2 separate regions of the Homo sapiens genome follow, and region 1 is linked to region 2. The links are contacts of gene promoters, found by promoter capture Hi-C in blood cells and fetal thymus (Javierre and others, 2016). All regions are on one chromosome and are shown on one strand. The core of a region is centred on a gene start or on the middle of the fragment in contact, and the rest is flanking DNA. Distances in the headings are between cores, read along the strand shown. Region 1 overlaps SLC25A46 (solute carrier family 25 member 46). Region 2 holds the start of FER (FER tyrosine kinase).

Region 1 (5,519 bases), core at 1,879-4,378, 2.0 Mb after region 2:
GTAAGCAAGAAGAGGTAACATGTCCAATGTCACGGGGTTGGACAGTCTAGGTAATAAAAGAAGTGTCTTATGTTTGGAATATTGGGTATGTATGAAATTGAATATCAGGAAAAGAAGCTGAGGTGCTACATTAAAATACGATTGTGCCTTTTTAAGTTTATTCTCTATGGGTTTGGAATGTGTTTCTTTTTTTAATATATAGATGTTCTGATCAAGATATATTCAAATGGCAGTATAAAATAAATGGAGTTGTATAGACAGATTTATGGAGATCTATTGTAATAATCTAGGCGAGGCTGAGAAGGTTCTGAACTGTGGAACAGAACAGAAAGGGATGAGCTGGCTAGACATTTCTGAAGTATAGTCGATGGTCATTATGTTAGCTTGGTAATTGGAGATAGGAGAGAATGAGTTGTCAGTAGTGACTGAGATTTCTAGATTGGAAAATGTTAACCAAGATGGAGAATTCAAGAAGAAGAAAAAGTTGGAGTAGGGAAGAAGATAAAGAATTTATCTTTCAATAAATGAAGTTTGAGATTCTTGCAAGACATTGAGGGAGAGGGACATGTCTCATATTTGGTTGGAACCATGGATCAGAGTAAAAAAAAAAAAATAGAAAATTGAAGCACAGGGAGAGCTTTGGGTATTGTGGCATAAAAGTAGCAGCTGAAGCTTAGGATAGATGAAATCACCTAAGGAGAAAGCATAGATTAAATGAATAAAATGGACCAAGGACAGAATCCTAGGCATACATGTGTGCCGTGTGTGTGTGGGAGCGGTGGGAAGGGGGGTAGTTGGGGGAGATAATGAGAGAAATTAGAGAGGGCCTCAGACAAATTGGAAATAGCATAAGATGTAGGACAATCATGTTCTAGAAACCAAAAATGGGAGAATTAGAAGTGTAGATACATTTGAGAGAGAGGGTAGAGAAATTAGGGAAATTTGCTTTTGGGTCTCTCTTTTCTCTGTGAAGCAGGATACAGGGTTATTTGGTGAAAAAATGATAAGCATTGGGGTTGTAGTAGAAAAGCATGAGAGGAATGATACACATTTGGGACAGTCACAATGATGGGTAACAAAGGAATCTTACAAAGAGTATATGAAAGGAATGTTAATAGGTAATATTGGAAATTAGAAATTTTTAAGGTGCTATTTGGCATTACTCTGATTTTCTATATCAGCACTATATTTTTGTATATCATCCTATCGATAATGTTAAAGGCTTTGGAATGGTTTGTTAATCCAAATTTATTCTCTGGCAAGGTGAATTTTTTGCATTGTTAAAGAAGTGAGATAGTTGAAGGCATAGCTACTAGTGTAACGCATATGCCCAATGTTGGGATTTAGTCCTTACAGGGAAGGAAATGAAAGCAAGAGAAACTGATAGTAAGCTTTTTTCCAATGTGATTGCTTTTGAAGGACCTCGTAGTCTTGAAGTGCCTTAAATAAACTTTGCTAAAACGTTTGAAACAAAACAAAGATTAGAAAGGTCAGCAACATTTGGGCAGCTCAGAGTTTCTTGTTTTATTCTTTAAAAATCTGTATTTCGTTGTTTGGCTAACTATTCACTTTATTGCTTTTATATCACTAGATAAGATCCCAAGTTAGTACTTATAGTCAAATATTCTTGAAATTCTTTAACAAACAATTCTGTAAAAAAATAACAAAATGCAGGAAATTCCATTTGGTAGAGTGAAAAAAATTCAATGCAGTTGTTCCTCATATCTGTAGGGGATTGATTCCAGGACCCCCAGTGGATACCAAAATCCAGAGATGCTTAAGTCCCTTTTATAAAATGGTGTTGTATTTGCATACAACCTGTACATAACCTCCTGTATACTTTAAATCATTTCTTGATTCCTTGTAATACCAAATACAATGTAAATGCTATGTAAATAGTTGTTATTCTATATTGTTTAGGGAATAATGACAAGAAAGAAAAAAACTCTGTACACATTCAGTACAGATGCAACTATCCCTTTTTTAAATAAATATTGTAAATCCGTAGTTGCCTGAATCCATGTATGTGGAACCCATGGATATGGAGGGTTGACTATATTTGCAACCAGAACACTATTGGTTCAGGTCCTGGCTATTCCACTTTTTATTTCTGGGACCTTATGCAAGTAATGTTGCCTCTCTAAAGCAGAGATGAAGGAATAACATTAATTTCAGGCTACAGGGAAGAAAAAAGAAAAATAGGAATGGGAAGGCATAGGACTTTATAAAATTTTATCATCTAACTTTCTTACTCAGTAGACAGACATGTCAACTGAGTGGGAATATATTTTCATCATTTTGAATCTTTCCAAAGAAGACAAAATAGTAACCTCTATTGCATTGTTCTACTTGGATAATTTTGGTGATAAGGCCCACTCATTAATTCATTCATTTACTTGGCTAACATTTCCTGAGTACTTACTATGTGCCAGGTTCTGTGCTAAAAACCGGGTTTACAGTGAGGAAAATAAACAAAAGGTAACTGTTGCCAGGAAGCTCAGAATCTAATAAAAGTACATTCACTAAGAACAATAATTCCATTAATGAATAATTGCAAATTGAAATTTGTTTTCTGAAGCAAAAGAATATAGTTCCATGAAAGTATTAAAGGGCTAGAAACAGTGTCCCTAGTAACATGACACTTAAGGTAGATCAGAGTGGTAATTAGGAGGTACATACCAGTTTGTACAAAAATGCTGTTGCAGTGGGGAGCCTAGAGAATTCAGGTGTAACTGAGAGAAGCCTCACATGGCTGGAGCTCTGGCCAAGGGTAAGGGTACAGAGCAGGTGGGAGCCAGAACATGTGTGGCCCTGTAGGCCATTTTAAGAATATTGAAGAGGTTCAGTAAGGTCAGTGACATCAGATTTGTTTTCAAAGGGTCATTGTAACTGTAGATGAAAAGGTTGTATGAGGACCAAAGTGAATAAAAGGAGACATCTTAGTATTCTATTACAATAATAAAGGTAAGAAAAGATAGTGGCTAAGATCAGGGTGGTATCTTTTGAGATAGAGGTAAGTGGACAGTTTTGAAATATACTTAGGTCAAACTGAGGGAATTTGGTGATGCTTTAGGAATGGTAGATCAAAGAGAAGGCAGTATGAAGAATGACTTCTTGTATTTGGGCTTGTGTAACTAGTTGTCAAATGAAGCTGTTTTTTTGAAGTATAGTGTGAATATCTTTTAAAAAATTATTTATTCTTCTTTGGGCAGATTTGACCTTTCCTATTAATGGGAAGAAGGCAGAGTTTGTTTCTGTATCCTATTAATGGGAAGAAGGAGCAAACAAGGTCACAAAACATTAACAGCAGTTCACAGAAGCTACTACATGAGGAGGATGAGCTCTGAGGTCTCCTAGCCTGGGGTTTTTTAATTGCGTAACATTTACTAGGTAGAACAGGGGAGATAGTACAGATTTGCCAATATTTAGGGGTTTTTAAATACAGTTTATGATCAAATCAAAGAGAAAAACAGCAGATCTCTAGTGTTCATTAAGTCAGCAAATTTATAATTTCTCAGTAGTATTACTTTTTAACAAATTATATATTAGCCAGGATCGTCATGTGTGATCTCTTTAGCAGTAGATACTGCTAAACCCTTCCCTGTTCTCTCTCCCAGTTGCAGTGAGTTAAACCATGTGTCGTTCTACCCCCACAGTACCCTTTACTTAATTTACATGTGGCTTTTTTCAGACTGTTAACGCGAGGTAGGAGTTCCTGTAACCAAGGCTACCTGTGTGGTTCAGTCTCTCACAAAACCCATTTGGTTCAACTCCAACTTAGTTTTGACTCATCACACATCTGTGGTTATACCACTGTAAACATCTTGTAGTTTTCCTCCAACGGTTCCCTCCGAATTTGCTTATTTTAAACACACGTTATTTTAAACACAATGAAATCTTCCTCAAATTCAATAGATTTCCTTTCTGATTAATAGTTCCTGAGTAGGGAACACTGAAAGAGTTTAAGTAGAAAAGAAAGATTTTAAGTTGGACTTTAGTACAAGTGCATTTTCAGATCTTTTATCATATCCAGATGGAGTTGTCTGTAGGCACATGATATGGGGCTGGCATATAAAGAATTCTTAACTGAAGGTAAATTAATTTGGGAGATTTTGAAGCTCTAACCCTAGATATGAGCGTCGCTAGGGAAGAAGGATACACTATGGTAGAAGAATAGAGTCTGAACCTTAGGAACTCCAACCAAGGGGTGGCTGGGTTAAGAAAGGTGGTCTTGAAAAGGAGTCAGGAGAGACCAGAAGGCAGGATAAAAACCAACAGAATGGGCTAGTGGAGCACAGGGGCAAAGAGTGCTTCAAGGAGAGAAGAGGCTCTGATGGCTGCTGAAATGTCAAATAAGGTAGAGACTTAAAAATGTCCATCAGATTTAATGACATGCAGATTATTGGAGACTTTGGTAAGAGCTGTTTTTGTTCAAAACCAATTTGAAGTGGGTTCAGAGGTGAGTGGGAAAGTACAGACGTGGAAACAGAAAGTTTAGATGGTTGGCTCTGACTAGGATTGATGAAGAGAGGTAACTGGAAGATGAGGGGTTTAGAGTAGGTTGGGGTAAGTTTTTTTTTTTTTTTTTTAATTAGGATAGCTATTTGACCATTTGAAAATTAAAGACTGCTGAGACAGAGTTATTTTAGAATTTTATTGCCTTTTTTGTGTTGATTATGCATAGGAGTATGTGTTTTGATTTGTTAAATGAAAAACTAGACTGTTTTGAGAAAAGCAAGGTACTCGAATAAATTTTATTAATTTTTTCGTTCATTAGGGAGGGCATTTTTTGCTTGGAAATAGATAATTTAGATATATTTACATGTTTGGTATTTGATAATGAATTATAAAAAGGTTTAGTGACTGAAGCTTTTAAGTATGCTTATTTAAATTTCTAGAGCTGTAACAGTAAATTTTACCCATTTTATAAAGTAGTAGAGAACAGATACAAAGAAGAGTCCCAAAAGCATTTTTTTAAATACTTGGTTTTAAGTCTCCTTTTATCTTAATGATCTTAAGAATTGGCAGTAGTCATCAAAGGGGAGGTAACTCAGAATTGACATTGTATTTAAAGGGGAGGCTACCCAGTCCTAAGTGTTTACCACAGTTTCATACTTAAAATTGGTGTCGTCATAAACTGTGGTAATACTTTGTGAGGCCATGAGTATTAGCTGTGCCAAGATGATTTACAAAGCATGTAACGTATTTTGTTTTATAATCATAAAGTAACTTTCAGTAAGATGGGAGGCCTAATCTATTTTTTATATTTTTCGACTTAATCATTGAATAATATGATTTCAGCTACATTGTGTTGTTCAGGCCAAATAAATATCCTAATAGTAATTTAATCAGAGTTCGGCCCAGAAGGTGCTCTAAGGTCTTAGAAATCGGGGGTAGTTGCTCTATTGTCTGAAAGTCTCTGATGTATGTATATGCTGTTGTTTTTCAAATTCAGTCATGTGAAATAGAAAATGTTTATCTAGATTCCTGCTGTAGCCATAGCCATGATGGAATGAGTA
Region 2 (6,140 bases), core at 899-3,398:
GATCTCTATTTTAGGAGCAGTATGTGTGTATGGTTAGTTATGAATTGTGGATAGGTATGAATTGTGGATTAGAAAGCAGAGAGTCACAAATCAAAGGAGTTGGCAGAAAAGAGACACAGATGAAGAAAAGGAGGGAGGGGTAAGTATTGGAACTACTGAACTAAGATGGCACACAACCAAGATTCCTCTTGCAGTCTATACTTTTAAACAGGAAAAAAGGGAGGTGGAGAGATGGGGTGAGGCATGGATGGTGCTAATCAAAAAAAGTAAAAAACTTTTCAATCATTTTTTATTACCCACCTAGGTTTGATGTCCACATTATTATTTTCATTGTCCAGTAAGTAATGCTATTAGAACAGACAAAGTTTGGTATTTGAGAACATGGAATATATACTAAGGTGACACACAGTGTTTATTAAATGTGTTGCAATGCAATGTGATAATTCCAACAGAGGAAAAAAATGTGAAACTGGATTTGCTATATATTTTTGTATGCTTCAAAAATGCAGCATAGATTTTTGCCACATTCATTTACTTCAAGTATATTCTTTCACAACTGCATTTCCTAGCACAATGACTGGCATATGGTAGACAGCTTTTAAGGTTTTGGAATGAATAGGTGAGAACTCAGAGAACAATTGTAGATATGGAAAGATTCTTGCTGATTTTTCTAGATTTGGGTTCCTTAACACAAACACACATGTTGTGTATCAAACAGCTCTATTTCTACCATATCTTTATTGAAAGCTACTTTCTGCAAATATGTAATAACGTATTCACCAACCACATCTTTCTACATTTTGATTCCCTTTGTATAAATGGAGAAATTCTAAGGTTCTTGGGAAAGGTATTCAGTCATGAAGCAGTCTCCAAAGTTGTATTTTGGCCTTACCTAACCAAATTTTCATTCATTTCATTCTTATTGACATTACATATACTATAACATTTGATGTTCACAGAAAATTAACTTCTATTTTAAGAAGTTTACTCACAGAACCACAGTTTGTGCATTTAACAATCACTATGAAATACATATGAAACATTAACCATCATTTTAGAGAACAATTTAAAAACTCCGAAGTAACTACTTTCCTTAACTTTGTCATCCCAACATTCTGGGTATAGGCATTGTTGGAAAAATATAATTAAAAACCAAAATCTCCCAACCCAGAAATCCTCTCCACAAACGTTAGTAGACAAAACACTTTTATTACTGAATAAGCATTAAACGAGACTGTGATACACATCACAGGCAATTTGCTAAGAGATTGCAAAGACAGAAATCTTGCCCTTTTGTATAGCCAAGTATATACGACCCATTACATACACGTTTTCAAGTTGAACAATAACTAGTCCTCAAGTAAGAGGACCTGACATTTGTGACATTAACTTTACTTAATAATTGGGGTGACCATCTGTGTTAGTTAATTGGTTTTATCCAGAGGAAAAACAAACTTCTCCTGTCTTTATGACGGAAGGTAGTTTTGCAACACGGAGCAAGTTGCTCACCGAAGTTACGCTCCTACTCTCTCACAGAAACTGGGAGATAGGGAAGGATGCTACTCCGTTGATATGTGCAGCATTTCAAAAAAAAAAAAAAAAAAAAGGTCCAGAGACATTCCTGACTGAGCATACAGTTGACAAGACCTATCTAGTCCTCAAGTGGATTTATACACATTTCAAAGAGTTGAGAAAGTACTTAACAATTAAGAAAGTACTTAAGTTTTCTAAGACAAATGCTCGGAGAGAAAGGGACGGGAAATCTCATCCTCCATTTTCAATAGGGAGAATTAAGCCTCTTATTTAAAATTTTTATGTTGGTTTTTGTTTATTTAGCTTTAAAACAGTAGACTTAAAAAAAGTCCAACTTAAGATTTATGTTTTTTTATGTGTAGGGCTGTTCTCTACGGTTAAATAAATAACCCTGCTTAGAGAAAATATTCACCACTCTTCTTTGGCTCCTATGTAACTCAGTTTTTGAGAGGGAGGGGAAATACCGGATTGACGCTATGTGGTTCAACCAATGCAAAAGATAACACCGCCTTAAAAAGTCTACTACAGGAACATGGGAGGGTCACACCCTCGAATAATGACGCATACCTATCCTACTGTTACTGATCACCTAGTAATAATCTTGTAGTTCACATTACTCATTTTTCACCAAATTCTTTTGGTGAAGGACGCTTCAGAAACGGCCATCACTGAAGAGCAGACCCGTTTGGGTTCTCCACGCATTCTAGACTCCCGAAGAGGTAAGAATTTATTATAGGGGGCCACTCCCAGGACCTGCTGTATGCTTTTAAACATCCATTACAATTCCAGCATTGAGTTTCTAACATTTTTAGGCAGGCTCAGGCACTGGGAGTACAGGATTGAAAGACAGTTCCCGTCCTTAAGGGACTCAGAGTAAACTGGAGTTGCTGAAAACCATTCTAAAGCAATCCACGTTAATAACAGATACAAGTAAAACGTGGGAACGTACAGGAAAAAGTGACCAATTCTGAGGCTGAAAAGTGCCTATTTTAGGGGTGGGGGCCTCGCGGCCCTAAAGCAGCTTCCCTTCCCGGAGATTTCAGCTCCAGGGATCGCCCAGCGCCCTCCGGGCACACTTAACATTTTAATCACGCCTCCGCCCCCACTCTCCGAATTCCTTTCCGGCTGCCGACCCGCCGAGTAGTCCCTTCCAGGCGGCCTCAGCTTATCATCGCCGGTCCGGCCACTTCCCGGCCGCGGCCAGGCGAGCCTCCCAAAGTTTCCTGTGAGGCCTTCGTCCGTCTCCGGCCCCATCTCACCACGGCAGCCCAGGACACCCGCTAGGGAGGAGCAGGTTACCGAGGCGGGGAGAGCGGCACAAACGCGCAGACCTCGGGACTCCACCCGGGCTGGTGAGCGAGCCCAGAAAGCGGCGACCGCAGCTCCGCGTCTCCACTCCCAGGGCCCGCAGCTTGGGCTAAGCGTGCGCCCACCCAGCCTAGGGCCCAAGTCCTGCCCCTTCGGGGACCGGGCCAATCGGCCGCTCCCCGCCTCCTGGGAGGTAGTGGAGGAGGGGGCTGAGGGCCGGGCGGCTGCGCCCGCCTTCCGCTCTTGCCCATTGGCTGAGGCCTCGAGGGTGCCCGGAGACCGGAGTGCAGCGGGATTGGTTGCAGAGGTTCGTGACAGTGGCGCCTATTGGCTGTGGCAGCCCCCGTGACGCGGGGTGGTGACTGGCTCCGGAGTCTGAGGGGTTCGGGCTTGTCAGGTTCTAGGTAGGTGCGTTTCGCGCCGCCGGCGGTAGGCGCTGTTGCCCGGGGCAACGCGGGGGGAGGGGGGAAGAGGAGGGAAGGCAAGCCTAGAGCGGGGGCAACAATGCCTGCCCGCAGAGGGGCGCCCGGGATTCGGCCAGGGCGTTGGGGGCTGTGCCGAGGCTCTTCCTCCGCCCTCAGCCAGCGCCCCCCCCAACCCCCGTCCCTGGCTGCAGGGTCATCCGCTCATCCTCCCGCCCGCAGCAGAGCATTCCTGGTTGGGGCTTGGGCCGGGCTACACACCCAGCCCCACGAGGGCCGCCCCTCCCACCATCCCGGGACCCGAAGGCTGAGGGGGCGGGTGCCGGCGCGAAAGGGCTGTGGCGGGCGTAGTGGCTCCGCCCCGTCGCGGGGTCTGGGGGCTGATGGGCGTGAGGCGGGGTGGTGGGGGGACTGTGGGCACCACCCAATCTTGCCTGTACCCTCACCCCTTTTCTCGGCGGCACTCATCTGGGCGCCGCCGTCCCGCTACGGGGGCATTCTCAACCCCTGGTATTCCCCCCATCCCTTCCTGCTTCTGGAGCCCCGCAGTCTCCCTTGACCCGCTCGGTCCTCCCCAGCTCTCCTCCTATCTGTCACCTTCTCCCGCTTTTATCCCCCACCTCATCTTTCTCCTCCGGTCTTGGCCAGAGGTGTCCTCCAAGAGTCTAATCAAGAGATAGATCTTAAGTGTGAAGCTAGTGGTGTCGTCGGTAATTTCTGCTCTGTGGTCTCTTTGCCAGTTAGAATTGGGGAGATGTTTGGAGGCACCTTCAGGGGTCATCCTTCTGCCTTACAGTTACCCCTAGGATCTACTTTCTGAATACGCTCATTGGGTTGTGTTGGTAGGGGCAAGGTACTTCTTAAACAAATTGAGGATTGTACTATGAGGTGGGCACTTTGTACGTTTGCGATTTTGCCATCCACTGTAGTGCAATTCAAAATCTAATAATTTGTTACGGCTGGTAGCCTTACATTTTTTTCCTTCGCCTTATGGTTAAAAAAAGAGCAGCTTTTTAACCTTTTTAATTCAGAAGTTGCGTATATTAATGGTTGTCTCACTATCACTTTGACATAAACTGCTGTAAAGGTGTACTCCATTTTCCTTTTCTCCAGATATGTTAAGATAATAAATTTCTCAGATGAGGTTACCATATATAAAAGTGTAGTGGAACATCAATAAGAGAATAGATCAAAACTATTTTAGTGATTAAAGATTAGAAAATACTTTTCAATTCATATGTGGAATGAGAATAGGATAAAAAAAAAAAACTATTGCAAAATCTTTAGTGCAGTATTTGTAGTCCTGGTATATATACCTGTGTTGCCCTTAAGAAGACATTTGTGAGTAGCTCCAGGTTTGTCAGTCGGGAAAGCAGAGTGTATCTTTTTGTAGTCCAGGAAAGCTTTTCTGCTAGTACTTTTGAGCCAAGAGAATTATGCTTCCAAAGATGCTGGGAATATATTAAGAGAGTACATAGGCATACTTCTGTTTTCATCTTTGAAAGACCTTTAGTGAAGATCTGTTTCTCTTCTGCATTGATTGTTGACAGCATTAAATATACATAATCTAAAACTATGTAGTGTCAAGTTGTTGCAGCTTCTGCACTGCTTCAAAGGTTGATGTCTTTAGTTCAGAAGAAATAATTCAAGCTTTGGTAGACAAATCATTTACATTTCATCTTCGATGTAGATGTTACTGTAACTCTGGACCGTGAACATTTCAAATTTGCCAGTTTTTTCTCAACTATTTTACTATGAAAAATTTCAAACAATGCAGAAGAGTCGAGTTGAACCCACCACCTATATATTTAGCAATAACGATTTCAAGACCACTGTTACACAGTAAACATTAAGGAATAGAGGAACTGAAATGATCAAGCTTAAAAAACCAGCGTATGTGGCCGGGCGCGGTGGCTCATGCCTGTAATCCCAGCACTTTGGGAGGCCGAGGCGGGCGGATCACCTGAGGTCGGGAGTTCGAGACCAGCCTGACCAAAATGGAGAAACATGGTCTCTAATAAAAATACAAAATTAGCCGGGCATGGTGGTGCATGCCTGTAATCCCAGCTACTCGGGAGGCTGAGGCAGGAGAACCGCTTGAACCCGTGAGGCGGAGGTTGTGGTGAGTGGAGATCACACCATTGCACTCCAGCCTAGGTAACAAGACCGAAACTCCATCTCAGAAAAACAAAAAACAAACAAACAAAAAAACCACAAAAAGCCCAGCATATGTATATACATGTATATGTAGTATACATGTATATACACACCACCAAATTATAAGGTGCTTATTTTTGTTTGTGAGTGGGAATTGTACTTACTAAAACTATACTAACTTAATTACATGAGACTATTCAAAGCAATCTTGTGAGTGAGGTAGGAAGTCATCATCTTTGTAATCAAGGCCCAAATAAGTAAACTGCATTTTGGTAATCAGACAAAAGGAAATCTGATGAACTTGTTATACAAAAAAACGTTTTGCTTCAAAATTGGACTCCTGTGTAAATAGATTATAGTTTTGTACTTGATTTATAAATAAACATCTTTTGGAGGGAAGTCCAAGGGACTATCAATTATGTAAAATTTTGGTAACTTGATAAATTGGGTCAATCTTATGTCTGTTCATTTGGAATAAGAATGTATTTTTGTAATGGAAAAAGCTTACAAAGGTGAACTTTTTTTAGTAGAACTGCTTCATGGAGACTGACGTAATTAGAGAAATTTAAGTCAGTATTTCGATAGGACTCAACGATCTTGGGTGTTGTCTCATGGTTCTGAGGAATATTTTGATATAAAACTTCAATTTATAGTAAAGGAATAAGTGGAAATGGGTATAAATTCACACATTTGTATATTTGTAATTTTTCTATACCCGAG

Evidence for each region. The method cuts DNA at HindIII sites, captures the fragments that hold promoters and counts their contacts. A CHiCAGO score of 5 or more calls a contact.
Region 1: a fragment that was not itself captured here is called in contact with the fragment with the promoter of FER in region 2 in 1 of 17 cell types (naive CD8 T cells); the score reaches 5.5 in naive CD8 T cells.

The regions. Positions count from the first base shown.
Region 1 is chr5:110,748,731-110,754,249 of GRCh38, forward strand. All of the region lies in intron 5 of SLC25A46 (solute carrier family 25 member 46), which reads left to right. Among named protein-coding and RNA genes, the nearest start is that of SLC25A46, 12 kb to the left of the region's middle. RefSeq lists an enhancer at 3,825-4,084. The HindIII fragment of the contact is 3,478 bases long and covers 1,390-4,867 here.
Region 2 is chr5:108,745,749-108,751,888 of GRCh38, forward strand. It overlaps FER (FER tyrosine kinase), which reads left to right and starts at 2,149. Exons shown (of 20, transcript NM_005246.4): 1 at 2,149-2,252. RefSeq lists silencers at 2,916-3,015, 3,096-3,155, 3,286-3,695. The HindIII fragment of the contact is 11,506 bases long and covers 1-4,664 here.